5 separate regions of the Homo sapiens genome follow, and all the other regions are linked to region 4. The links are contacts of gene promoters, found by promoter capture Hi-C in blood cells and fetal thymus (Javierre and others, 2016). All regions are on one chromosome and are shown on one strand. Each heading gives the region's core, a stretch centred on a gene start or on the middle of the fragment in contact. The rest is flanking DNA. Distances are from core to core; before and after follow the strand shown.

Region 1 (5,193 bases), core at 1,204-3,703, 110 kb before region 4:
CTGGGATTACAGGTGCCCACCACCATGCCCAGGTAATTTTTGTATTTTTAGTAGAGATAGGGTTTCGCCATGTTGGCCAGGCTGGTCTCGAACTCCTGACCTCAAGTGATCCGCCTGTCTGGCCTCCCAAAGTGCTGGAATTATAGGTGGCTCACTGCAACCTCCACCTCCCTGGTTCAAGCGATTTTCCTGCCTCCACACCCGGCCTGAAATAAAGTTTTTTACTAACTATATTATTTAAATAAAACAATATATTTTAAATTATTTCAATATTTCCATAGGTTTTTTTTTTTTAATTTTAAATTTTTTTTAGATGGGGTCTCACTCTGTTGCCCAGGCTAGAATGCAGTGGTGTGATCACGGCTCACTGCAGCCTCTAATCCCTGGGCTGAAGTGATCCTCCCACTTCAGCCTCCTGAGTAGCTGAGACTACAGGTGTGTGCAACCACACTGGCTAATTTTTTATTTTTTGTAGAGACAGGGTTTCTCCATGTTGTCCAGGCTGGTCTCGAACTCCTCTGGGCTCAAGCAATCTGCCCGCCTTGGCCTACCAAAATTCTGAGACTACAGGTGTGAGCCACCATGCCTGGCCCATAGTTTTCATTTTGTGAAACACTGTGGCATAGTGGGCAAAACTGAGTTTCAGTTCTGGTTCCCACACTGAGTAGCTGTGTGCACTCTAGCAAATTATCTGTTCTGAACGTCATTTTCTTCTCTTACACGCTGAGATGATACTGCCTAATTTAGAGGGATTAGCAAAGTGCGGTTGGTATATAGGAGGAAATTTTCAAATGTTAATTCCTCTCCTGCACTGTGATATGATTACTTTAAAAGTTTTGATGAATGTACTTATAAAATATCAATATTTCTGGACCATTTTAGATCTTAGTCTTATAGACAAAGAATCAGATGATGTCTTAGAAAGAATCATGGATGAGAAAACAGCAAGTGAGTTGAAGATTTTGTATGGTCACAGTGGGCCTGTCTACGGAGCCAGCTTCAGTCCGGATAGGTAAAATACAAACAATAAAAATTAAATACTGCTATGTTATATTGAAATTATATAAAAGTTAACTACTGGAAACATTATGCAAATGCTGGGAAAATTCTGATAAAAATCTCATGGTTGTCTGACGTTCATCATCTTTTAGAATCTTGCCATTTGCTAATTCATCTTTGAATCCTGGTGTTTGTACATGGTAGCAATTTAATGTATACTCACTTTTTTTTTTTTTTTTTTGAGACAGAGTTTCGCTCTTGTTGCCCAGGTTGGAGTGCAATGGCGTGATCTTGGCTTACCGCAACCTCCGCCTCCTGGGTTCAAGCGATTCTCCTGGCTCAGCCTCCTGAGTAGCTGGGATTACAGGCATGCGCCACCACACCTGGCTAATTTTATTTTTTTATTAGAGATGGGGTTTCTCCATGTTGGTCAGGCTGGTCTTGAACTCTCAACCTCAGGTGATCTGCCCACCTCAGCCTCCCAAAGTGCTGGGATTACAGGCGTGAGCCACTGTGCCTGGCCTGTATACTCAAATTTATAGAATCAAAATGCACAGTTTCAGGGCTTACTGGTTTTAAAAATTAGCTTTAGTATTTCCCTTTTTTTTTTTTAATTATTTTTATTTGTTACCCAATGGTAAATAACCAACCAAAGCTTTAGTTTTATAGAACTCCATTAGGGGTTGAATTGCTTCATTGGGTCCCTGCATTGTGTCTTCTGGCTGCTTCATCAAATTTAAGACAAATTCCTGACATTAATGGCATATTAGCTAGTAATTGAGGATTAATCTTTCTATAATCAAAAGTACTAAGAGTAAATGAAAAAGGAAATTCAAAATTGGTTTGCTTCCCTTTAGGTGTATGATTACAATGTCATCCTATGTGTATAGGTATTTGCCTATTTTTCATGATCTCTAACACTGTAAAAATGGGTGGAGGGTGTTTTGTATTCATAATACCATCAGTATATTACTTGGATAGATAATAGCTTTCAGGCCGGGCACAGTGGCTCACGCCTATAATCCCAGCACTTTGGGAGTCCAAGACAGGCGCATCACCTGAGATCAGGAGTTTGAGACCAGCCTGGCCAACATGGGAAATCCTGTCTCCACTAAAAAGTACAAAAATTAGCAGGGTGTGGTGGCGCCCACCTGTAATCCTGGCTACTTGGGAGGCCGAGGCAGGAAAGTCACTTGAACATGGGAGGCAGAGGTTGCAATGAGCCGAGATTGCACCACTGCACTCCAGCCTGGGTGATAAGAGCAAAACTCCATCTCAAAAAAAGAAGAAAAGAAAAAAAGATAATAGCTTTCCATCCATCAAGGTTTCATCATTACGAAACTTTGAGAATTAGGTTTTTTGTTGCTTGATAAGGTTTTGCCAGATGATACATTTTTGAGGGAAACGTCTGATTTCAGTGAAAATTGTAATAACCTTCTGACTATCAATCTTTTGTGTTTATGCTTGAAAAAGGTAGAGAATTATTAGCATGTCTGTAGTTTTTTTTTCTTTTTCTTCAAAAGACATTTCCTTTTTAATTCTTACATAGCTTACACAGCATGGGAAAATAGCATCTTTATTTTAGGGTCAAAAATTGTTGAGTTTTAAGTGACATATCACATTTCTTAAACTTTCTCAATTGACCTTATTTGACTATACTTTGTTAATTACCCCTGCTATTTTTTTCTTGTAAAGAACTCTGATTTTCCCTAAGTTTTTGTATCATATTACCTCATTCAGTAGGTGCTCGGTATATGTAGAGTGTCAGGGTTAACATTAGTTTGGTTAGTTCTTTCAATTGATACCTACTGTGAATTGCGTGTATGAATTAAAAGTGAGATGCAGCATGTTAGGTATATTTAATATAGTCAAATATATATAAAATATTAAATGTATTCAAATGTATATAAAACTGGGCAGGTGACCAAAGGTTACTCTGGGAGTCAAATATATCACCTTCTCTTCTCTCAGGAACTATCTGCTTTCCTCTTCAGAGGACGGAACTGTTAGATTGTGGAGCCTTCAAACATTTACTTGTTTGGTGGGATATAAAGGACACAACTATCCAGTATGGGACACACAATTTTCTCCATATGGATATTATTTTGTGTCAGGGGGCCATGACCGAGTAGCTCGGTAAGAACACTGTGATCTTATGACTGGGTCTATTCAATGAACAGAATGGTTTCTTGTTGGGAATTACACAGCCAGCCAAATTCATTTACACTTCCATTATTGAGGTTCAACTTTCTGAGAAGCTTTTGCATTTATAACTTATTTGAAATTGGGGCCGGGCGCAGTGGCTTATGCCTGTAATCCCAGCACTTTGGGAGGCCGAGGTGGATGGATCACCTGAGGTCAAGAGTTTGAGACCAGCCTGGCCAACATGGTGGAACCCCGTCTCTACTAAAAATACAAAAATTAGCCGGGCGTGGTGGTAGGCACCTGTAATCCCAGCTATTCAGGAGGCTGAGGCAGGAGAATCATTTGAACCTGAGAGGCGGAGGTTGCAGTGAGCCGAGATCGCACCATTGCACTCCAGCCTAGGGGACAAGAGCGAGACTTCATCTCAAAAAAAAAAAAAAAAAAAAAAAAAAGAAAAGAAATTGGGGCAGGAGTATTATTATATCTGCAATTACATCTATATGAATCCTGGTTTTTAAAAAATAGTTAATTAACAATCCTCCCTCCCAACCCCATCAGATACTTAACCTTGTCTTCCATACCACTGTGAGCACCTTTATGTTTCTCTGTCATCTGCTTAGAAGTTGAGGATAAGGTAGTTCAGGTTAGAAACTATTTGGCCAGGTGCAGTGGCTCACGCCTGTAATCCCAGCACTTTGGGAGGCCAAGGAGGGCAGATAACTTGAGGCCAGAAGTTCCAGACCAGCCTGGCCAACATGACGAAACCCCGTCTCTACTGAAAAAAAAAACAAAAATTAGCCGGGTGTGGTGGCACGTGCCTGTAGTCCCAGCTACTCAGGAGGCTGAGGCAGAATTGCTTGAACCCAGGAGGCAGAGGTTGCAGTGAGCCGAGATTGCACCACGGCATTCTAGCCTGGATGACAGAGTGAGACTGTCTCAAAACAAAACAACTATTTGGTGGCCAGAACTAGGGGAAAATACTTTTCTGTGGTTTAGACTAGGAATAGAGGAGGAAGAATATACAGAGAATTGGAGTTCTAGAACTTAAGTTTTGGCTGGCTACAGTGGTACACGCCTATAGTCCCAGCTACTGGGGAGGCTGAGGTGGGAGGATTGCTGGAACCGAGTTTGAATCCAGCTTGGGCAACAGAGCAAGACCTCAGCATTTTTTTTTTTTTTTTTGAGACAGAGTCTCGCTCTGTTACCCAGGCTGGAGTGCAGTGTCGCCATCTCGGCTCACTGCAACCTCTACCTCCTGGGTTCAAGCAATTCTCCTGCCTCAGCTTCCTGAGTAGCTGGGATTACAGGCGTGCGCCACCATGCCCAGCTAATTTTTTGTATTTTTAGTAAAGACGGTGTTTCACCATGTTGGTCAGGCTGGTCTCGAACTCCTGACCTCGTGATCTGCATGCCTCGGCCTCCCAAAGTGCTAGAAGTGTAAGCGTGAGCCCCCATGCCTGGCAAGACCTCAGCTTAAAAAAAAAAAAAAATTGTACCAGATGAACTCTTAGGACTGTGAGTCTCATTTTTCTTCCCCTCAGTTAACTAGTAAGTGGGGGGCCCACTCAGAACTAACTTTTTATGTGGATGTTTCTGTATTTATTTTGTATAGATTTTTGGCGTTTCACAGCTATCTACTAATTGTCATCTTTTGCTTTCAATAACTTTATAAAAGGCTCTGGGCTACAGACCACTATCAGCCTTTAAGAATATTTGCCGGCCATCTTGCTGATGTGAATTGTACCAGATTCCATCCAAATTCTAATTATGTTGCTACGGGCTCTGCAGACAGAACTGTGCGGCTCTGGGACGTCCTGAATGGTAACTGTGTAAGGATCTTCACTGGACACAAGGTATTTTACACTCTTACTATTCCAGCATCCAAGGTTGCTTTCAAAATAAAAATATTTTTTAAACAAGTGACACATAAATTTTAAAGATACCATTCTTACTACAAAACTTTAAAATTTTGTCTTATTTTCCTAGACATACTTTGATCTTTTCTATGAACTTTTTTCTAGGGACCAATTCATTCCTTGACATTTTCTC
Region 2 (5,144 bases), core at 2,182-4,681, 130 kb before region 4:
TTATTTTTTAAACACAGGGTTAACCAGGTGCGGTGGCTCATTCCTGTAATCCCAGGAGTTTGGGAGGCTGAGGCGGGAAGATCACTTAAGGTCAGGAGGTTGAGACCAGCCTGGCCAACATGACAAAACCGCATCTCTACTAAAAATATAAAAATTAGTTGGGCATGGTAGTGCACACCTGTAATCCCAGCTACTCGGGAGGCTGAGGCATGAGAATCACTTGAACCTGGGAGGTGGAATTTGCAGTGAGCTGAGATTGAAAAAAAATTAATTCAGGCCGGGCGCGGTGGCTCACGCCAGTAATCCCAGCACTTTGGGAGGCCGAGGCGGGCGGATCACGAGGTCAGGAGATCGAGACCATCCTGGCTAACACGGTGAAACCCTATCTCTACTGAAAATACAAAAAATTAGCCAGGCATGGTGGTGGGCGCCTGTAGTCTCAGCTACTCGGGAGGCTGAGGCAGGAGAATGGCCTAAATCCAGGAGGTGGAGCTTGCAGTGAGCTGAGATCCGGCCACTGCACTCCAGCCTGGGCGACAGAGTGAGACTCCGTCTCAAAAAAAAAGAAAAAAAAAAAAAGAAAAAAAATTAATTCAGTTAAGATCAATTTAATGGGTCACACTCAGTATTTTATTTTATTTATTTATTTATTTATTTTTTTGAGCTGGAGTCTCGCTCTGTGGCCCAGGCTGGAGTGCAATGGCACAATCTCGGCTCACTGCAACCTTCATCTCAGCTCCTAAAGTGCTGGGATTACAGGCATGAGCCGCCACCCCTATCCCTAGATTAGCTTTGCATTTCAGTCTCGGGATCACTTTTGAACATTATGCTTGCACTTTCTTAATCAAACATTTACAGAACACCTTTTAAAGTGAAGTAGAAATAACCAATGGTTATTTATTACATACTAGGTATTGCATATGCATTACCTCATTTAATTCTCAAAACACTATGACGTAACTACTATTATTTTTTTGTTAGAAATTGGGCAACTGGGGCCAGGCGTGGTGGCTCACGCCTGTAATCCCAGCACTGTGGGAGGCCGAGGCAGGTGGACCACCTAAGTTCGGGAGATCGAGACCAGCCTAACCAACATGGAGAAACCCTGTCTCTACTAAAAATACAAAATTAGCTGGGCCTGATGTGGCACATGCCTGTAATCCCAGCTACTCGGGAGGCTGAGGCAGAATAATTGCTTAAACCTGAGTGGTGGAGGTTGCAGTGAGCCGACATGGCGCCATTGCACTCCAGCCTGGGCAACAAGAGTGAAACTCCGTTTCAAAAAAAAAAAAAAAAAATTAGGCAACTGGGACATAGTAAATTAAGTAACTTGCTCCAGGTTATTCAGCCAGTAAGCAAGGTCAAGCCAGGTGGTCTGTGCCTGTAGTCTCAGCTACTTGGGAGGCTGAGGTGAGAGACTGCTTGAGCCCAGGAGTTCAAGGCCAGCCTAGGCAATATAGTAAGGCTTCAGATCTCTAATTAATAAAATAAAATATTTTTTAAAAGTAAGCAGGGTCAAAGGACGCTGGTAAGACCTCAAAACCAATAACTTGAACGGCTGTGCTAGATTTTCCCAATGTCTCAGGCTCACTTTTCTCGTCTGTACCTATTCCACAGAGTTACAAGTTTCCAATGAGATAAAATATGCAGGAGGGTTTTATAACCTATGAAGCACATTGCAAAATGGCATATATGATTTTTTTTTTTTTTTTTTTTTTTCCTGAGACGGAGTTTTGTTCTTGCTGCCCAGGCTGAAGTGCAATGGTGCGATCTCGGCTCACTGCAACCTCCGCCTCCTGGGTTCAGGTGATTCCTCTGTTTCAGCCTCCCGAGTAGCTGGGATTACAGGTGCCCGCCACCACACCTGGCTAAATTTTTATATTTTTAGTAGAGATGGCGTTTCATCATGTTAGCTAGGCTGGTCTCGAACTCCTGACCTCGGGTGATCCACCCGCCTCGGCCTCCCAAAGTGCTGGGACTACAGGTATGTGCCACTGCGTGTGGCCATGATTTTTAAATATACAATTAAAATGGTTTATTTGTAATAACGGATAATAGCATGAATACATAACGTACATATTTCACAACCACAACATTCTGGTATTTAAAAACTTTTTTTTTGAGACGGAGTCTCGTACTGTCGCGCAGGCTGGAGTGCAGTGGCGGGATCTCGGCTCACTGCAACCTCCGTCTCCCGGGTTCAAGCTCTTCTTCTGTCTCAGCCTCCCGAGTAGCTGGGATTACAGGGGCGCACCACCATGCCTGGCTAATTTTTTGTATTTTTAGTAGAGGCGGGGTTTTGCCGTGTTGGTCAGGCTGGTCTCTAATTCCTGATCTCATGATCCGCCCGCCTCGGCCTCCCAAAGTGCTGGGGTTACAGGCGTGAGCCACCGCACCTGGCGTTAAAAACTTTTTATTGAAATGTAATGTATACGGGCCAGGCGCAGTGGTTCACGCCTGTAATCCCAGCACTTTGGGAGGCTGAGGCCGGTGGATCACCTGAGGTCAGGAGTTGGAGACCAGCCTCGCCAACATGGCGAAACCCTGTCTCTACTGAAAATACAAAAATTAGCCGGGCGTGGTGGCACACGTCTGTAATCCCAGCTACTCGGGAGGCTCAGGCAGGAGAATCGCTTGAACCCAGGAGGCAGAGATTGCAGTGAGCTGAGATCGGGCCACTGCACTCCAGCCTGGGCGACAGAGCGACACTCCGTCTCAAAAGTTAAATAAATAAATAAATGTAATGTAATGCATGCAGCTCGATTAACTTTTACAAAAGTAAAAATGACAAAAAAAAAAAAAAAGTAAGCACTATTCAGGTCAAAATGTAAAACTACCAGTATCTCGGAAGCCTCCCTCTGGCAAATGGTATATGTTTTTGAGTTAAATACGTGGATTCGAATGTTGACATTTGGACTTTCTTCTTGCCTCTGGTAAGTTATTTAACCTCTCTTGGTTTCAACTGAGCCATCTGCGAGGTGGGGATAATATTACCTCATAAGATTATTTAATTGTAGCAGGGCGTGGTGGCGCATGCCTGTAATCCTAGCTACTGGGGAGGCTGAGGCAGGAGAATCGCTTAACAGCCTGGGCGACAAGAGCGAAACTCCGTCTCAAAAAAAAAAAAAAGAAAAAAGAAAAAGATTATTGAATTGAAGGAGATCACATAATGTAAAACATCTATCATAATGCCTAAATATAGCTGGCCTGCAATAAATGGCAATTATTCTCAGGCAAATGTAATAGGTGGTCACCAATGCCCACTTCCTGCCTTTCTTTCGCTCGGTTTTGAAAGTTGCTCTCTTTCCTATTCCGTTTCTCCTTCCTTTTCGCTCCTCCTACTGCCGTAAATGGCCTACTAGAGTTGTCGTGAAATGCTCCTCCCCGCCCTCCATGTGGCGAAAATGCAATCACGCTTGACGGCGCGAGGTGGCTCAGCCGCAAGATGGCGGCGCTGGCGGAGGAGCAGACGGAGGTGGCGGTCAAGCTAGAGCCTGAGGGACCGCCAACGCTGCTACCTCCGCAGGCGGGGGACGGCGCAGGCGAGGGTAGCGGCGGCACTACCAACAACGGCCCCAACGGCGGCGGCGGGAACGTTGCGGCGTCGTCGTCCACTGGCGGGGATGGCGGGACCCCCAAGCCCACGGTGGCTGTCTCCGCCGCTGCCCCGGCGGGGGCGGCCCCGGTGCCCGCCGCTGCTCCGGACGCCGGCGCTCCGCATGACCGACAGACTCTACTGGCCGTGCTGCAGTTCCTACGGCAGAGCAAACTCCGCGAGGCCGAAGAGGCGCTGCGCCGTGAGGCCGGGCTGCTGGAGGAGGCAGTGGCGGGCTCCGGAGCCCCGGGAGAGGTGGACAGCGCCGGCGCTGAGGTGACCAGCGCGCTTCTCAGCCGGGTGACCGCCTCGGCCCCTGGCCCTGCGGCCCCCGACCCTCCGGGCACTGGCGCTTCGGGGGCCACGGTCGTCTCAGGTTCAGCCTCAGGTCCTGCGGCTCCGGGTAAAGGTGAGCCGTGGGGTCCCGGGTAGGTACGGCCGCCGCGAAGGGGAGCAAGCCGGTAAGGCAGGGGCTGGCAGGCCTGCACCTCTGCGGGCTTGTTTTGAATTTCCTGGGCCCGCCTCTAGGGCCACATGCCCGCCCCTTTCTCTAGTGCGCGGGCTGCGCAGTCAAACCCCCTTCCGAGCTGTCAGTTCCAGTGAGAAGCTGAGGAGAGCTGTTGAGCAGAGGGATGTATGGGGAAGGTGAGCGCGGAGAGGCGGGATCTTCACGCTCTTGGTCCCTTTCCTTTCATTTGGGCTTTTGAGCCTTGGGCAGGTCCGCATGACACTAACAGTGTTTGTACAGTTTCGTACTAGCGTACTTTAAGTACTGTAAGTACTTTATTTTCTCTTTATTTCTTTAGTTCCTCTTAAAAGATGTGTTGATAAATACTTTATAGATTTTTTTTTTTTTTGAGACGGAAACTTGCTCTGTTGCCCAGGTTGGAGTGCAGTGGCGCAATCTTGGCTCACTGCAACCTCCGCCTCCCGGGTTCAAGCAATTCTCCTGCCTCAGCCTCCCGCGTAGGTGGGACTACAGGCTCCTACTGCCACGGCCGGCTAATTTTTGTATTTTTAGTAGAGGCGGGCTTTCACCATGTTGGTCAGGCTGGTCTCGAAATCCTGACCTCAGATGATCCACCTGCCTCGGCCTCCTACAGTGCTGGGATTACAGGCGTGAGACACCGCGCCCGGCCGCCATACAATATACCCTTGTAACAGTCCTGCACATCATGTACCCCCTGAATCTCAGCTAAAAGTTGAATTTTTTTTCTTTTTCTTTTTTTCTTTTTTTGAGACGGAGTCTTGCTCTGTCGCCCAGGCTGGAGTACAGTGGCGTGATCTTAGCTCACTGCAACCTCTGCCTCCCAGATTTAAGCGATTCTCCTGCCTCAGCCTCCCGAATAGGTGGGACTACTGGCACGCGCCACCACGCCCGGCTAATTTTTAAAAATATATTTTTAGTAGAGATGGGGTTTCGCCATATTGGTCAGGCTGGTCTTGAATTCCTGACCTCGTGATGCACCCACCTCTGCGTCCCAAAGTGCTGGGATTACAGGCATGAGCCACCGCACCCGGCTGAAATTTTAAAAATATATATGGGCTG
Region 3 (5,340 bases), core at 2,343-4,842, 74 kb before region 4:
AGCCCACTAGGAAGGAGCCAAGATGGTGTAGAAGTTAGTGTAACCAAGACTCCATAGAGGTGATGTAAGATAATTAATGTTGCTTCATGGTCAGGAGAGGGTAGTTTGCAGCAATTTATGGGAGGAATTACATTTGAAATAGTGATTTGTATGCTCCAGATTGTCATACAGCAGGAAGAATCTGCCACTGAGATGATTAGAGGAAAAGCTATAGCAGGTTCTTGGGGAATGGCCCCGTGGCTTTTGGGTTTAAGAGGTTGCAGAGACCAGCTCAGTGGCTCTCATGATAACAGATAACTTGATGACAGCCTGTGTCCCTCCCCTAGGTTTTGCTTTGTGACCCTGAAGCCAAGAAGCTGATGATGACCCTGAAAAAAACCCTGATTGAGTCCAAACTACCTGTCATTACCTGCTATGCCGATGCCAAGCCTGGTCTGCAGACACATGGCTTCATCATCAGGGTCAAGGACTATGGCTGCATTGTGAAGTTCTACAACAATGTGCAGGGACTGGTGCCCAAGCATGAGCTCAGTACTGAGTATATCCCTGACCCGGAGAGAGTTTTTTACACTGGCCAGGTAACCCTTCCCCTAGACAGGTCCCCTTTACCCTTGGTGACCCCACAAACACAAATATGAAGGAGCAGTAAGTAGTGGGGCTGCCTTTAGGAGGCTGAGGAAGAGAGCACATGGGGCAGTGGGTGTGAGCCGGCTAAATGGAGGAGACGGGGAACAGAACAGAGAGAAAGCCTCAGCGGGGTTCAGCAGAAGCTGGCAAGCTGATGGATCTCAGGCACGCATGGAAGAGGTCAGTCTTTACTTGTAATAAACCTGTGCCTCTCATATCGGAAATTGTTTTGAGGTCACTGTCACCACATGGGGGCAGTGCTGTAAAACTAGTAAGTCTTGGTATCACTAGGAAAAGCATTTTTTTATTCCTTTAAACGACTTTAAACAGATAGATAATAATTGTACATATTTATGGGGTACAATATGATATTTCTTTTTTCTTTTCCTTTTTTTTTTTGAGACAGAGTTTCCTCTGTCACCCAGGCTGGAGTGCAATGGCGTGATCTCAGCTCACTGCAACCTCCACCTCCCAGGCTCAAGTGATTCTCGTGCTTCAGCCACCCAAGTAGCTGGGACTACAGGCATGTGCCGGCATACCCGGCTAATTTTTGTATTTTTAGTAGAGATGGGATTTTGCCATGTTGGCCAGGCTGGTCTCGAACTCCCTGGCTTCAAGTGATCAGCCTGCCTTGGCCTTTCAAAGTGCTGGAATTACAGGCCTGAGCCACTAAGCCTGGCCACCATGTGATATTTCAATACATGCTTACAATGTGTAACGATCAAACCAGGGTAATTAGCATCTCCATCACCTCAAAAAGAAAAATAATTTTTAAGACTTGGATTGTACAAAAAAAGTTACTTATGTCTTCCATTTATCCCAAAGGCTGCCCTGGGGGATTGTGTAGCTCTCAGTGCATTTCTTCTTTTCACTGCCTCCTGATCTGATCCAAAGGCTCGGTAGATCTCCCAAGTCCTCTGCAGCAGTAGTGGAGGGCACGTTGCAGGGCCTGCAAGGCTTGCTGGGAGGAGTTGGCCAAGCCTGTGTGGTTTCTTGCCAGGTGGTGAAGGTTGTCGTATTGAACTGTGAGCCATCCAAAGAGAGGATGCTCTTATCCTTCAAGCTGTCGAGTGATCCAGAGCCAAAGAAAGAGCCTGCAGGACACAGTCAGAAGAAAGGAAAAGCCATTAACATTGGGCAGGTACGTGGACTTCTCTGGACAAGCTATTTTATGTTACAGTGGCAGAGAGCAGGGAACCACTAACACATGGCATATTGGAACCCACGAAGCGGAAAGATAGAGGTAGCTAGATAAGATTTTGGGGCTAGAGGGGTTCATACGCATTCCTTCCTGTGTGTCAGAACAAATGGAAGCTGTCCCTGAAAGTCCTGTTACAGTGAGGCTTTTCAGCAGTGGGCTGCTGACCTCTTTCCTCTCGGGTCCCTAGGGCCAGCCTGCAGTTCTGGCTTTCCTGGGGCTCCGTGGAGGGACTTGAGAGAGGAGTGCGATGGGTCCACCCATGAGTCCTGGTGAATGTGCACGTACATGCATGCTGGGTGGTTGGGGTGGTGGGTGGGGTTTGGAAGAAAGCTGCCTCTTAGAGATCCTTGGTGCCGGAGTTTAATGCCTCCAAGCCCTGCCTAATCCAGACCAGGTTGTTCTCTGTTCATGACAAGTGCTATTTTTGTCTTTCTCTTCCCTGGGTAGTTGGTAGATGTGAAGGTTTTAGAGAAGACCAAAGATGGGCTGGAGGTGGCTGTCCTGCCCCACAACATCCGTGCTTTCCTCCCCACATCTCATCTGTCGGACCACGTTGCCAACGGCCCATTGTTACATCATTGGCTCCAGGCAGGTGACATCCTTCACCGAGTCCTGTGTCTGAGCCAGAGCGAGGGGCGTGTTGTATCCTTGACTGGTATCTGTGGAGCAGAGGAAGGTGGGGGGCCATGGGTGCTTGGATGGGAAATTCTGGGGAAATTAGACAGCTATTTGACCTCAGAAATATCTCCACAAAACCAAACCAGTGATGAAGCCTGTGCTATGGAAAGTAAGAGCAGGCCTGAGTAAGTGCTGCCAGCAGATGCTGGTGGTCAGGGCGGAGTAGCCTGAAAGGTTGCAGAGAGGGGGACTCTCGGAGGCTGGAGAAGGAGGCCCAGTGGGGTGCTTGGGAGCACATCTAGTTTTCTTGGGGCTTTCAGTGCCTGCCCCTTGGGTTAGAACCAATAATAAGGTGGCTTCTGTCCCCCTTTCCTCTTTTTTTTTTTCCCCTATGCCTTCTCCCCGCGGGGCTATAGGCTCAGGAATATTCCCTTTGGTCTTTGCATGGGTGCTTTGAAGGAGCTTCTCACAGAATGTAAAGTTCATTCTCCTGGGAGTAAAAATGGGCAGAGGAGGGAAAATGAGTTCATCAGTGTAAAGAGGGAGTAGTAGAGGATTGTGTGATGGCTGATCCAGCTGCCAGACCAGGGGGATGAGCCATCCCTTTTTGGTGTCCTCTAGTAATCTGCAGATTAGTGAATCGGGAATGGAATAAAACCGTGATTCTCAGCTGTAGTGTGCAGTTGGGCCATGCAGATGGCTGGGCCACACCAAAGTTTCTAATTCAGTAGGTCTAGGTGGTGCTTGAGAACTTGCATTTCTCCTAAGTTTCAGGCGATGTTGATGCTGCTGGTCTGCACACTTAGAGAATCGCTGTAGCAGCAGAGATCAGCCTGCAGTTCTGTCCTTCTCTGTGGAGAAAGGAGATGGGAGAGATGGACATTTCATCTGCCCTTTCTGGAACATTCCTTGATGAAGTACCACTAGCTTCTTTGCAGGAAGCCAGCCTTGGTCTCCACAGTAGAAGGTGGCCAGGATCCCAAGAACTTCTCAGAAATCCATCCTGGAATGCTGCTCATTGGTTTTGTGAAGAGCATCAAGGACTATGGCGTGTTCATCCAGTTCCCCTCAGGTCTTAGCGGACTGGCCCCAAAAGCTGTAAGTTCAACTCCATGTACAAGGGCTTTGAGGAGAGATACAAGGTCACAGAACCTGAGGGCGGGTAGGGAGGAGTAGGATACTTTATTCCTTTTTTTTTTGAGACAGTCTTGTTCTGTCGCCCAGGCTGGCTTGCAGTGGTGTGATCTCTGCTCGCTGTAACCTCCGCCTCCTGGGCTCAAGCGATTTTCCTGCTTCTGCCTTCCAAGTAGCTGGGATTACAGGTGCCCACCAACATGCCAGGCTTTTTTTTTTTTTTTTTTTTGAGTAGTAGAGACAGAGTTTTACCATGTTGGCCAGGCTGGTCTTGAACTCCTGACCTTAAGTGATCCACCTGCCTCGGCCTCCCAAAGTGCTGCGATTACAGGTGTGAGCCACCGCACCTGGCCAAGGATACTTTACTCTTTTGAAAGATTTTCAGGGGTACCTCTTAAGGTGTGTGTGACATAAAGGCACCTGGGAGGGGTGAGTGCAGCTGAGCTTTTGGCCCATGTTCCTCTCGCCCAGCTGTGTGACCATCTGGAGGAAGGGACACCTTTCCCACTCCACACTACACATTGAAGGCCTTAGTCTCCAGTGTGAAGATGACTGCACTTGTTTTTATTCTCTCAGCACACTTAGACAGGGAAATTGATCATCCTGAGCTACTGAGTACAGGTTTTGCAGACTTCTGAGGTTTTTGAGGTGTTAAGGGACCAGAATGTCTTTGAAATTATTACCTCCCCCACCCCCATGTCATTGAGTCCTGCACTTTCAGATGGGAACAATCCCAGCAGTCCCCTAGCAGAGCCTCCTGGTGTGCCTGGCACGTCAGCCGAGGCCTATTGAGGGGATGGGACTCACCAAAGTCATGGAAGACAGCGAGCAAATGGCGTGCAGCTGATTGCTGCTGCAGATCATTCATCAGTATTTCTTCCCCTCTGTAGGCCTGTCTCCCTGGTGTTTTGCCTGGGAAAATCTCATTTGCATCCCCTGCCAGAAACATTTTAAAAATGGGAGCAGAGGGGAGGGCCCCAGAAACAAGCCCAGTGAGGGGCAGAGGGTTCCCGTGGGTTGTTAGGGGTGAGGACAGCCCTGGTGTCTGCCTGGCTTGCTGTGAATGTGCCTTCTTGACTGGGTGCCCTCTCCTGGAGGCTCTGTTTTTTTTGTTGTTGTTGTTTGTTTTTGTTTTTGTTTTTTTTTTTTGAGATGGAGTCTCACTCTGTCGCCCAGGCTGGAGTGCAGTGGCGCAATCTCGGCTTACAGCAACCTCTGCCTCCCGGATTCAAGTGATTCTCCTGCCCCAGCCTCCCGAGTAGCTGGAATTGCAGGTGCATGCCACCACTCCTGGCTAATTTTTGTATTTTTAGTAGAGTCAGGGTTTCACCATGTTGGTCAGGCTGGTCTGGAACTCCTGACCCCATGATCTGCCCGCCTCGGCCTCCCGAAGTGCTGGGATTACAGGCGTGAGCCACTGCTCCCAGCCAATCCGGAGGCTCTGTTTTTATGGAAGGGAAGTAGAGCTGTGTTCAGAGAGGGCTTGGGGGAGCTTCCTAGGCCCCATTTCCCCCTACTCACGTACCCCTTTCCAGGAACATCAAGTGGGTTGTCTTAATGAAGACCTTTCCTCTTCTCATCTCCTGCCTGTTCTTCTGTTCAGATCATGAGTGACAAATTTGTGACCTCCACAAGTGACCACTTTGTTGAGGGCCAGACAGTAGCGGCAAAGGTGACCAATGTGGATGAGGAGAAGCAGCGGATGCTGCTGTCACTGCGGCTGTCGGACTGTGGTCTGGGGGACTTGGCTATCACCAGCC
Region 4 (5,263 bases), core at 792-3,291:
CCCATAGCCCCAGGTCTAGGCCATGTGGGGCCTGTGACATCCCTTTGTCAGGCGCGGTGGCTCATGCCTGTAATCCCAGTACTTTGGGAGTCCGAGGCAGGTGGATCACCTGAGGTCAGCAGTTCAAGACATCCCTGCTGTGCTCTACCTTTGGGGCCTCATCCCCTCCCCCATTCCCCTGCCCACACCAGGCTTCCCTGGAGCCACCGTCTGTAAATCCTAGCTAGGCCCTTGTACTTCAAACACACTCTAGCAGGATGAGTCTCAACTATGCAGAGTCCTCATATTTGTTCTAACTTGTGAAAGGCCTGATTCTAGTGGCCACTCACAGTGACTTCATTCCGGCAGATTTCAGGGGGAATATAAGTGTGTGTGCTTGTATAGGTGTGAGTGTGTGAGATAGTGTAGCGGTGTGTTAGCACATGTGTGAGTGTGTTGCCATTAAGAGCCTGTGGATTTCTGATGCATGAGTCATTAGCTGGGAGTGAGCCTTGGGAAGATACTGCCCATAAATAAGACAGCCATCCCTGACCTGCTGTGGCCATCTGCAGCTGCCTGCACACGTGATCCTGGGCATCTGGGAGGCTGGAGGCCGGGTTCGGGGCTGCCTTTCCCTCCAGATTCCAGAGAGACAGTGGCTGTCACAGATATTTCTAGCTTGCCTGGAGTCCCAGACATTTAAGGGTAGAATGCCTGGAATGGGGATGGAGAGAGGAGAGTAGGAGAGGAAAATAAAGGGTGGTTCAGGAGGCTCTGCCCCCAGGGATCTCAGTGGAGCCTCCTGGCCCACAGTGGGAAGCATGCATTCCACAATTATTTTCTGAGAATCTGTCACATGCCAGGCATTCCCCCAGTGGGTAAGGACACCCTGGTGAACACGACTGACCTGTGCTCTCCCCTCACAGAGCTTATGTTCTAGCAGGGAGGCAGAAGATAAACGAGGAAAGGCTACTTGTAAACAAGTTCCATATAAAAGCTATGATGAAAATAAAATGGAATATTGTGGAAAGTGACTGACAGTGGAGGGGGTCCTTTAGTTGGGGCAGTCAGGGAATGTCAGGACACGAATTGTGCCTAGATAATGAGGAGCTGCCAAATGGAGACTTGGGGGAAGAACCTTTATTACAGAAAAGGATACATGAGATGTCCCCCTGCCCACCCATGTCTTCACTGGACTCTGGATCTGAGTTGCTGAAGCCAGAGCAGGGAGCTAGAGATGACTTAGAGGAGCAGGAAGTCTGATTCCCTGGGGGGAACCTTGGAACATCTTCCATCCCTGATAGACCAGGAGAGATGCCCCGGGTCCAGGAAGGAGAAGAATGACTTCTGTTTCCCTTCCTGAAGGCTTCTTGGTGCAGTGTTGAGCTACAGGAAGGCACTAGCCACATGAGCAGGGCCCTTGCTGAAACCCCCTTCCTCCAGGAAGCCTTCTTTGACTGCCATAGGCTGCAGAGGCTCCTCTCCCCCACCTTGTTATAGCTAACAGAACCACTCAGTTCAGAGCTGGTGGTCTTCTGATGATCTGTCCCGGAGATCTGTTCCCTCAGCTTGGCCAGAGCTCCAGGCTTGTGAGTCTGGTCCGCGGGCATTCAAAGGCCCTCAGTGGCATCTGTGCATCAGTGAGACTGCCCGGGGTTCCTGCTCTGAACCCTTGCCCTAGTGCCCCTAGCCTGGCTGAGAACGGAGGGTCAAGTGCCGGGGTTCTAATCTCAATTACTTTATCCAAGCATCCGCTCGCTCATTTACATGTTTCCCTGGGCTCTCCACTCTGCGCCAGGCCCGGTACCTGGAGCTAGGGAAACCGAACATTAGTGCTGGCTCGCCCGCCCCCGCATCCGGGGAGCTCGGCGTTCTCGCGGCCCTGCTCCCCTTGTTTTCAAGTGCAAGTTCCATGTTTCCGTGCTGGGAATAAGGCCAGCCCCGGGTGCCACCATACTCGCCTGATGTCTTACCCCGACCCGCGCCGCCGAGAGCTTGCGGCTACGGGAACGCGGCGCGCCCCGGGGCCACATCTGGCCTAGCGGGCGCGCGCGTGTCACTAAGACGCTCATTCACCGGCGCAGCTGTCACCATAACAACCGGAGCGAGGGAATCCTGGAGACTGCCGGGGCGGGGGGCGGGGGCGGCGGTCGCAGGAGGGACCCGGCGCGGGCGGGACCGCGGCGGTCGGGGGACACCAGCTGCGTCGGAGCGCCCAGAACGCCCCGCGCTCCGCCGAGCCCCGCTCCACGCAGACCCGCGGGCGGGAGGGAGCCACGCACATCGCCGCCGCGGCCGTCTCCGCGGGGCGGTAACCGAGCCTGCCTCGGAGCCGCCGAACGCCCACGCCAGCGACCCTGACTCTATGGCCCCGGGGGAGCGCGCCGGAGCCGCCGCGCCGCCCACCCCCAGCCGGAACCCTAGCGTCCCGGGGAGCAAGCGGGGAGCCCCGGGCGTCCCCGGCCCCGGCCCAGGGCCCTGCTTGTGGCCCCCGCTCCCGCCACGGGGCATGGGAGGCAGGTAGCCCAGCCTGCGCCAGGACACCCGTGGCGGGCGGAACCCGCCAAGGACCGCGAAGTCCAGAGAAAGGAAGCTGAGGAGCTGCCCGCCCGCCCCCGGCTGCAGCCCCAGCAGGGCCCTCCCCCGGTGGCGCGCACCCGCGCGCGCACACTCGCACACCGCACCTCAGCGCCTGCCCGGCCTCGCCCCCACCCGCGAGCGCCGAACCTCCTGGGGCCGGATGCCATGGGTAACAACTTCTCCAGTATCCCCTCGCTGCCCCGAGGAAACCCGAGCCGCGCGCCGCGGGGCCACCCCCAGAACCTCAAAGGTAGGCTCCCCGGCCGAGCGCTGCTGGAGGACTGGGGCGCAGGTGGAGGGCCAGGGAGGTGTGGTTGGGGAGGGCGGGCAGACGCCACCTGTTGTGCGTGTCTGGAGGCCGGAGATGCACCTCTGGCCGTGGAGTGGGCTGGGGGTGGAGGGCAGCCGGCGATGATGGTGATGGAGGATGGCGTCCCGCGGGGTCTGCGCAGTTCTGTCTGCTGGCACTGGGAACGTCACTGGAGTCCCCTCAGGCCATGGTCTTAGGCGAGCCTGAAGAGATGGGAAAGGATGTTTGCCAGGTCGATAGGGGAGTGGGGAGTGAGGAGGGAAGCTTGGGTCGTCCGTGTCTCCAGGGAGGCACCTCGATGGGTCTCCTTTCCATCGGCCCTAGGGCTGGAGAGACCAGGCTGGGAGCACTAGTTGCATTTCCAATGGGAGGGTTTTAAAAATTCAGGACAGGATTACAGCAGCCTGGAAGAAAGGGTCAGAGCTGCTGGTTCCTGGGGTCCTTTGCAGCCGTTGGGTTTTTGCATCCATTGAATTAGTTTGATTTCTGGTTTTCCCAAAGACCAGATATCCAGTCAGAGCCCTAGAAAAGAGGGTCTGGGAGCCTTGAAACAGAGGGACATTTACTAGGAATGTCTTTGCTCTTCACCTCCCCAGATCCACTCAGCACCCTCAGGGTGGCCCTAGGCCCAGTCTCCCCATTCGGAGCCTGCCATTCCTGTCTTGGATCTTCCAATGCTGTCTCTGACCTTTGGAAGACACTGCTGGGTCCTCCCGGGCCCTCAGACCCTACTAAATTCCTTCCGGAAGGTGCTTTTCTGTCACCTCAGAACCAGTGGCACTTGTCCTGGGCATGATGGCTAAAAGCCAGGAAGGGAAGCCCTTGGGCTTTCAGAAAGAATACCCCACTTCCTAAGCTCCTCAGGTTATGAGAAGGATAACAATAGTGCCCTTTAACACAAGGCATCGAACTTTCTCAAACACATTTTCAGTGAGCATGGACACTGCTTGGGGTAGTCAGCAGAGCAGAGCTAATCACACTATACCCATTTTACAGATGAGGAGAACCAAGGCTTGCTTCAGGTTCCCAAAGCCAGCCAGACCTCGGCGCTAGGTGCTAGGCTGTAGACCCCTATCTTTTGACTTGGAATTCTGTCCCTTCTTTTGCTGAACAGTTAACTTTTAAGACCAGGGAAGAGGAGGAGAGATAGGACCACTGTCCTGCATTCTAATACTCCAGCTCTTTCAGAACTTCAGCTTTCACTTGGCTCAGGAAAATCAGTGGATTTGTTGTGTCTTTCTGGAAATTAATATGGCAATACATGTCAAGATACTTTAAAAATATCAATTTGTTGGCAGGGTGCGGTGGCTCACGCCTGTAATCCGAGCACTTTGGGAGGCTGAGGCAGGTGGATCACTTGAGGTCAGGAGTTCCAGACCAGCCTGGCCAACATGGCGAAACACTGTCTCTACTAAAAATACAAAAATTAGCCGGGCATAGTGGTGCGTGCCTATGATCCCAGCTACTTGGGAGGCAGATAGGCAGGAGAATCCCTTGAATCTGGCAGATGGAAGTTGCAGTGAGCTGAGATCGTTCCACTGCACTCCAGCCTGAGCGACAGAGCGAGACTCTGTCTTGCTAAAAAAAAAAAAAAAATCAGTTTGTTGACCTTGTAATTCTACCTTGAGGAATTGATACTAAGGAAGTGGAGATGCAGGAATATATACTTATGGCACTAGGCTAGGATGTTCATGGCAGTGTTATTTATACTAGGTGGATAACCTAAATGCTCAGTAATCATGGTATATATTCTTGGTAGAGTACTATGCAGTGATTACAATTATATTTGTGAAGAATAGTTGATGACTGTGGAAAATGCTCACAGTATAACGACAGAATACAAAGTTGTGAAGACTGTATGATCCCAATTTTGTTTAAAAAGTGGTGTGAATGCAAAAAACCCCAACAAAAACAAAACAAGCAAAAATGCTTGTAAAGTTTCCAAAGGGTTAACAATTATTTCCTCTGGGTATAGGATCATATGGGATTGCATTTTTTCTTTTTTATATTTTGCTCTTTTCTAAAATTTCTATAATAAGGAAGTATTATTTTTGTAATCAGAAATAAGCTATCAGTGTTAGCAAGTATGAAGACTGTTTCTGAGCATTGGAAACAGATTCCTAATGAACCTATGAATATCGTTCAGCTCAACCTTCTCTGCAAGTGAGAATAATGAGGGAAAAGAATAATTATTTGCCCAAATTAAAGTGGCAAAACTTGGCCCTGTCCTTCAGGGGGCAAGGGTTAGCTGGGGGCAGGGGTTAGTTGGCCCTTAATATTCACAGACTATCTTCCTGAGAAGGTCTTGCTCCATCCTTGACTCTGTGGAAACCCAGAGAGCTCCCAACTAATTGCATCTTTTTAATCTAAAATTTGGAATTGTGGGGATCTGAG
Region 5 (5,930 bases), core at 893-3,392, 91 kb before region 4:
CATGATCATAGCTCACTTTAGTCTTGAACTCCTGGGCTCAAGCAATCTTCCTGCCTCAGCTTCTCCTGAGAAATTGGGACTACTAAAGGTGTGTGTCACCATGCCCAGCTAATTTTTAAATCTTTTGTAGGGCTTGGATCTTGCTATTTTGCCCAGGTTGGTCTCGAACTCCTGTGCTCAAGCAATCCTCCTGCCTCAACCTCCCGAAGTGTTGGGATTATAGACATGAGCTACCCACCGTGCCTGCCCCCTTTTTTTCCTTTAAAGCTGTCGTGGGCTTGTTTGTGTCCTCACAGGACTTGAGTTCTGATATATTCAGAGGTTAGAATGGACAGTAACTTTAGCAGTCATTCTCATCTTACCCATTCATTTCATAGATGTGAAACCCATTTCCAAGAATTGAAGTGGTCTGTGTTCCTTACATTTTTATTTTTTATTTTTTAATTTTGAAATTATTTTATTTTATTTATTTATTTATTTTGAGACGGAATCTCTCTCTGTTGCGCAGTCTGGAGTGCAGTGATGTGATCTCAGCTCACTGCAACCTCTGCCTCCCGGGTTCAAGCGATTCTCCTGCCTCAGCCTCCTGAGTAGCTGGGATTACAGGTGTCTCACCACGCCTGGCTAATTTTTGTATTTTTAATAGAGACGGGGTTTCACCATGTTGGTCAGGCTGGTCTGGAACTCCTGACCTCGTGATCTGCCTGCCTTGGCCTCCCAAAGTGCTGGAATCACAGGCGTGAGCCACCGCGGCCAGCCTGCCTTACATTTTTAGATGATAACACCAATATGTGTTAGTTATAAAAAAGAAAAGAAGTTAAATAACTTTGAAGAGGAACATTCATATTTGGCTAGATTCAGAGTCAATATTTTGTCCTATATGATACTTTAAAAAAATTGTTAGACTTGGTGCCAACATTAGAAAACTAAAATTTTTTTTTTTTTTGAGACGGAGTCTCGCACAGTCGCCCAGGCTGGAGTGCCGTGGTGCCATCTCTGCTCTGCTCACTGCAAGCTCCGCCTCCCGGGTTCTCGCCATTCTCCTGCCTCAGCCTCCTGAGTAGCTGGGACTACAGGCGCCCGCCACCACGCCCAGCTAAGTTTTTGTATTTTTGGTAGAGACGGGGCTTTACCATGTTAGCCAGGATGGTCTCAATATCCTGACCTTGTAATCTGCCCGCCTCCGCCTCCCAAAGTGCTGGGATTACAGGCGTGAGCCACTGCACCTGGCTGAAAACTAAAAATTTTTTTACATGAAAATATGATTTCTGGCTTCTTGTAAAAATTTGAAAGTACTGATAGCAGAAGGCCCGTATTCCCTCATGTTTGTAATGACAAGGAGCTGAGTAGTGGTTGTGTCCTTTAGACCTGGCATGGTCACTCCAGACTGCCATTGTCTCCACTAGCTGGCTTCCTTCATTGTGTTGTCTGCCAGGCATTTGAGTTTGGGTTGCTCAGAATAATGTAAAAGGCAAAGGTGTCCTCCAGTATCCCAGTGCTGTTAACACTGTTGTATAATCTAGACCTTTTACAGTGCTCGGTCAGATATTTGAGAAGTTCACTGATATGTACACATGTGTATTTCTTTTCATTTATAAAATTCCTGTAGGTTTTTATTTTTTATTTATTTTTATTTTTTTATTTTCGAGACAGAGTTTCACTCTTGTTGCCCAGGCTGGAGTGCAGTGGCATGATCTCAGTTCATTGCAACCTCCACCTCCCAGGTTCAGGTGATTCTCCTGCCTCAGCCTCCTGAGTAGCTGGAATTACAGGCACCTGCCACCATGCCCGGCTAATTTTTGTATTTTTAGTAGAGACGGGGTTTTGCCGTGTTGGCCAGGCTGCTCTCGAACTCCTGACCTCAGGTGATCCACCCGCCTCAGCCTCCCAAAGTGCTGGGACTACAGGCATGAGCCACTGTACCCGGCCTATTTTTTATCTTTATTTTTTGAGATAGGGTGTCACTTTGTTGCCAAGGCTGGAGTGCAGTGGTGTGATCACAGCTCACTGCAGACTCAACCTCCTGGCTCAAGCGATCCACTCACCTCCGAGTACCTGCGACTACAGGCGTGTACCACTATGCCTGGCTAATCTTTTTTTTTGGAGAAACTACGTTGCCCAGGCTGGTCTGAAACTCCTGAGCCCAGGCAGTCCTCCTGCCTTGGCCACCCAAAGTATTGGAATTATAGGGCGTAAGCCACTGTGCTTGGCCTTATAGCTTTTAAATTGACACTAGAAGCCAGACCTTCCAACCTTCCCTATTGTTGTTCCCATCCTTATTGTACACATTTCACTTTTTCTCTTCTAGTCCCTGTGTGAGGGAATGCGTATTTTGGGTTGCGTGAAAGAGGTGAATGAACTGGAACTGGTGATTAGTCTCCCCAATGGCCTCCAGGGCTTTGTGCAAGTCACTGAAATCTGTGATGCCTACACCAAAAAGCTGAATGAGCAGGTGACACAAGAACAACCTCTGAAGGTAAGGGAAATCCGAATGAAGCCTGTTATTGAAAATAAGTGGAACACAAATAGATTTAAAATTACAACTTTGCCAGGTGCTAAGAAGGGAAAGTACAAGGTCCCGTGAGAGTTTATCATAAAGGAATTTTTGACTAAGTCTGGGAGCCTGGAAGACTGTTGAGGAAGGGATGCTTAAGCTGAGATCTAAAGAATGAGGGTTCCCTAGATAAAGAAGGAAAGGCGTTCAGGCAGAAGCAATGTAATATATAACAGAGAGAAGGCTAGTATGGCTAGGTAAGGAGAGCAAGAGAGAGTGTGATGTGAGATGGGCAGGAGAGCCTGAATGGGGGCCAGGGCACATGCAGCCTTGTAGACCATTTTAAGGGTTGTTTTTAAATTCTAGAATCAATGGGAAGTCCTTGAAATGTTCTCACTGGGGTACAGCATAACGTGTAGATTGAAGAGGCATGAGAAGTTGCTTAGAGACAAGTTAGGAGGCTCTTGTAGTCGTTCACGTCCTGAGATTGATGGTGACCTGGGTTCAGGATTTCCTGAGGACTGAGGAGGCAAAGTCATTGCTTGGTGATAGATTCAATATGGGTGGTGGGGCAGATAGAGGTGTCAGGGCTGAGTTCTAGGTTTCTGTTTTGCATGATTTGATGCTTGGTCATGACATCCTGAGATAGGAAACCCTGAAGGGGACCTGGATTGGGAGAGATGATCATGATTTTTCAGTTTTTGAGACAGAGTCTCACTCTGTTGCCCAGGCTGGAGTGCAGTGGCATGATCTCAGCTCACTGAAACCTCCATCTCCTGGGTTCAAGTGATTCTCCTGCCTCAGCCTCCCCAGTAGCTGGGATTACAGGTGCCAGCCACCACACCCAGCTAATTTTTGTATTTTCGGTAGAGACAGGGCTTCACCATGTTGGCCAGGCTGGTCTCTAACTCCTGACCTCAAATGATCCACCCGCCTCGGCCTCCCAGAGTGTTGGGATTATAGGTGTGAGCCATCATGCCTGACCTATGATTTTTGTTTGTTTGTTTGTTTTTGAGATGGAGTCTCACTCTTTAGCCCAGGCTGGAGTGCAGTGACATGATCTCAGCTCACTGCAACCTCCAGCTCCCAGATTCAAGCAATTCTCCTGCCTCAGCCTCCTGAGTAGCTGGGATTACAGGCAGATGTCACCACACCCAGCTAATTTTTGTATTTTTAGTAGAGACAGGGTTTTACCATGTTGGCCAGGCTGGTCTCAAACTCCTGACGTCAGGTGATCTGCCCGCCTTGGCCTCCCTAAGTGCTGGGATTACAGGCATGAGCCACCACACCCGACCCTCAAGTGCTTTTTAATGGTCATGTAAGAGATAGACTGCAAAACTGACCACTGGATTTAACAATATGGAACTCATTGGTGATTCTATGGGAGATAGAGTGGTGGAGTGAGAGGGGTGGAAAGCAGATTGCAGTGAGCCGAAGAATGAGTAAGGGATGAAGTAGAGGCAGAAAGTGTAGACAACTCTTTTGACAAGTCATTTTACATGCCAGTTATGTGGAAATATTTGAAGGCCTTATGCTGAAATTCAAGACTGTGGCTAGGCCACAGACCCAACTTCCTTTGTGGATGGGGGGTTATTCCTCACCCACCTTTTGGGTTCTCTGGGGTCTGAGGATGAGAAGTCACTGAGCCAAAGCTGGGTAATGGATTTTTGGTTCAGGAGAAGGGTGTATATCAGGTCTTTCTCATTTGTGTTATGCAGGACCTACTTCACTTGCCTGAACTTTTCTCACCTGGAATGCTGGTAAGATGTGTGGTGAGCAGTCTGGGCATCACAGACAGGGGCAAGAAGAGTGTCAAGCTGTCTCTGAACCCCAAAAATGTCAACAGAGTGCTGAGTGCTGAGGCCCTGAAGCCTGGCATGGTAGGTGTCTAGGGTCGGGGAGGAAGAGTGGCAATGTGCCTTCTCTCTGCCTCTGAGGGAGCGTGGTCTAGGCCACCTTTTACTTTCAGCTCAATTGTGACACATAGGAGTGGTTCTTTTTCTGGAAGGAAGGTCTCTTGGGTTCTTTGGGCACTTAATGGACATTGAAGACTTGAACCTAATCATTACATTGGAGAAGAGAAAAGAGAAAGCAAGTCCAAATTTCTTTTTTTTTTTTGAGTCGGAGTTTCGCTGTTGTTGCCCAGGCTAGAAAGCAGTGGCATGATCTCGGCTCACCACAGCCTCCACCTCCTGGGTTTAAGCAATTCTTCTGCCTCAACCTCCTGAGGCAGGGATTACAGGTGCCATGCCCAGCTAATTTTTGTATTTTTAATAGAGACGGGATTTCACCATGTTGGCCAGGCTGGTCTCAAACTCTTGACCTCAAGTGATCTGCCTGCCTCAGCCTTCCAAAATGCTGGGATTACAGGCATGAGCCACTGTGCCCTGCCGAAAGTTTGCTATCTTTTGAAACCACTTGAGGCAAGAGACTCTTCTATATTGTTCCATCATTCAGCTGTGTTAAACATTCCTCATTGCCTGGCAACCATCAGCTCCTTCAAGCCTGGGAGTGTTGAATTTGATGTCTGCTGTCTAGTGGGATTGTGGCTTAAGGTTTAATGTGGGAGTGGGATAGTGGCAGAGTGTGAGCTTAGTGGCAGGAACATTCAAGTTTGGATGTTTTGTGTGTGTCCCATTACCTTTGAATTGGAACTTCTGGGACTACTTTCTCTTCCCCAGCTACTTACAGGTACCGTATCCAGCCTGGAAGACCATGGCTACCTAGTGGACATTGGTGTTGATGGGACCAGAGCTTTTCTGCCACTGCTGAAAGCCCAGGAGTACATCAGACAGAAGAACAAAGGTGAGGGCAAGAAAAGGGGCCAGTACATGGTGGTGAGGTGGTACATGTGGGGATTATATTTAAGTGCCATTTTGATGAGTAACATGACAGAATGGTGACCCTGAAGGTGCTGTGGCTTTGGTAAAACCAGCACTTAATCCTAGTTAATAGGAAAGGAAAGATGTATGAAGGGCCAGCGAGTGGTAAGGTCTCACTAAGATCTGATGGAACAGTGTCAGTTTTTCTAACCTGGAAGATTCCACTGCAATTAGGGCCCCCATGGCTTCTGAACCAGCAGTCTCCTGGCTTGTGTATTTTTGTGTGGTAATTGAATTCCAGATCAATTAGGATAACTTCGTTTCCTTCTTGTAGTTGGCCCCTTAAAGATTGGGAATTTGGGGAGTAACTGATGCTAACTGGGCAGGTAGGCCATGGGTCTTTTCAGGTATTACTTGGGCCCACGTTAAAAGTCCTTCTCATAGATACATTTTTCCTTTTGGGGCCTGGGTCTGGGCTTACAGGTGCTAAACTAAAGGTGGGTCAGTACCTGAACTGCATTGTTGAAAAGGTGAAAGGCAACGGAGGAGTTGTTAGTCTGTCTGTTGGTCACTCAGAGGTTTCTACGGCCATTGCTACTGAACAGCAGAGCTGG

Evidence for each region. The method cuts DNA at HindIII sites, captures the fragments that hold promoters and counts their contacts. A CHiCAGO score of 5 or more calls a contact.
Region 1: a fragment that was not itself captured here is called in contact with the fragment with the promoter of NEURL1 in region 4 in 1 of 17 cell types (M1 macrophages); the score reaches 5.5 in M1 macrophages.
Region 2: the fragment with the promoter of TAF5 here is called in contact with the fragment with the promoter of NEURL1 in region 4 in 2 of 17 cell types (M0 macrophages and M1 macrophages); the score reaches 5.4 in M0 macrophages.
Region 3: a contact is called between a fragment that was not itself captured here and the fragment with the promoter of NEURL1 in region 4, in 15 of 17 cell types (M1 macrophages, M0 macrophages, megakaryocytes and 12 more). The highest score is 12.9, in M1 macrophages.
Region 5: a fragment that was not itself captured here is called in contact with the fragment with the promoter of NEURL1 in region 4 in 3 of 17 cell types (M0 macrophages, M2 macrophages and M1 macrophages); the score reaches 5.8 in M0 macrophages.

Annotation. Positions count from the first base shown.
Region 1 is chr10:103,382,356-103,387,548 of GRCh38, forward strand. It overlaps TAF5 (TATA-box binding protein associated factor 5), which reads left to right. Exons shown (of 11, transcript NM_006951.5): 7 at 883-1,012; 8 at 2,971-3,135; 9 at 4,820-4,997; 10 at 5,166-5,193. Among named protein-coding and RNA genes, the nearest start is that of MIR1307, 9.4 kb to the right of the region's middle. The HindIII fragment of the contact is 1,603 bases long and covers 1,653-3,255 here.
Region 2 is chr10:103,364,545-103,369,688 of GRCh38, forward strand. It overlaps TAF5 (TATA-box binding protein associated factor 5), which reads left to right and starts at 3,432. Exons shown (of 11, transcript NM_006951.5): 1 at 3,432-4,004. The coding sequence starts at 3,446. RefSeq lists enhancers at 3,248-3,542, 3,295-3,534, 4,665-4,734 and a silencer at 3,665-4,204. The HindIII fragment of the contact is 22,064 bases long and covers 1-5,144 here.
Region 3 is chr10:103,416,165-103,421,504 of GRCh38, forward strand. It overlaps PDCD11 (programmed cell death 11), which reads left to right. Exons shown (of 36, transcript NM_014976.2): 13 at 327-578; 14 at 1,628-1,768; 15 at 2,276-2,470; 16 at 3,374-3,544; 17 at 5,184-5,340. Among named protein-coding and RNA genes, the nearest start is that of PDCD11, 22 kb to the left of the region's middle. The HindIII fragment of the contact is 7,810 bases long and covers 1-5,340 here.
Region 4 is chr10:103,491,664-103,496,926 of GRCh38, forward strand. NEURL1 (neuralized E3 ubiquitin protein ligase 1) reads left to right here and starts at 2,042. Exons shown (of 6, transcript NM_004210.5): 1 at 2,042-2,809. The coding sequence starts at 2,725. It overlaps NEURL1-AS1 (NEURL1 antisense RNA 1), which reads right to left. Exons shown (of 4, transcript NR_120675.1): 3 at 2,898-3,072. RefSeq lists silencers at 2,251-2,400, 2,411-2,540, 2,621-2,720 and an enhancer at 2,387-2,936. The HindIII fragment of the contact is 3,415 bases long and covers 1-3,131 here.
Region 5 is chr10:103,400,810-103,406,739 of GRCh38, forward strand. It overlaps PDCD11 (programmed cell death 11), which reads left to right. Exons shown (of 36, transcript NM_014976.2): 4 at 2,309-2,476; 5 at 4,213-4,374; 6 at 5,176-5,299; 7 at 5,800-5,930. Among named protein-coding and RNA genes, the nearest start is that of PDCD11, 7.1 kb to the left of the region's middle. The HindIII fragment of the contact is 8,494 bases long and covers 1-5,930 here.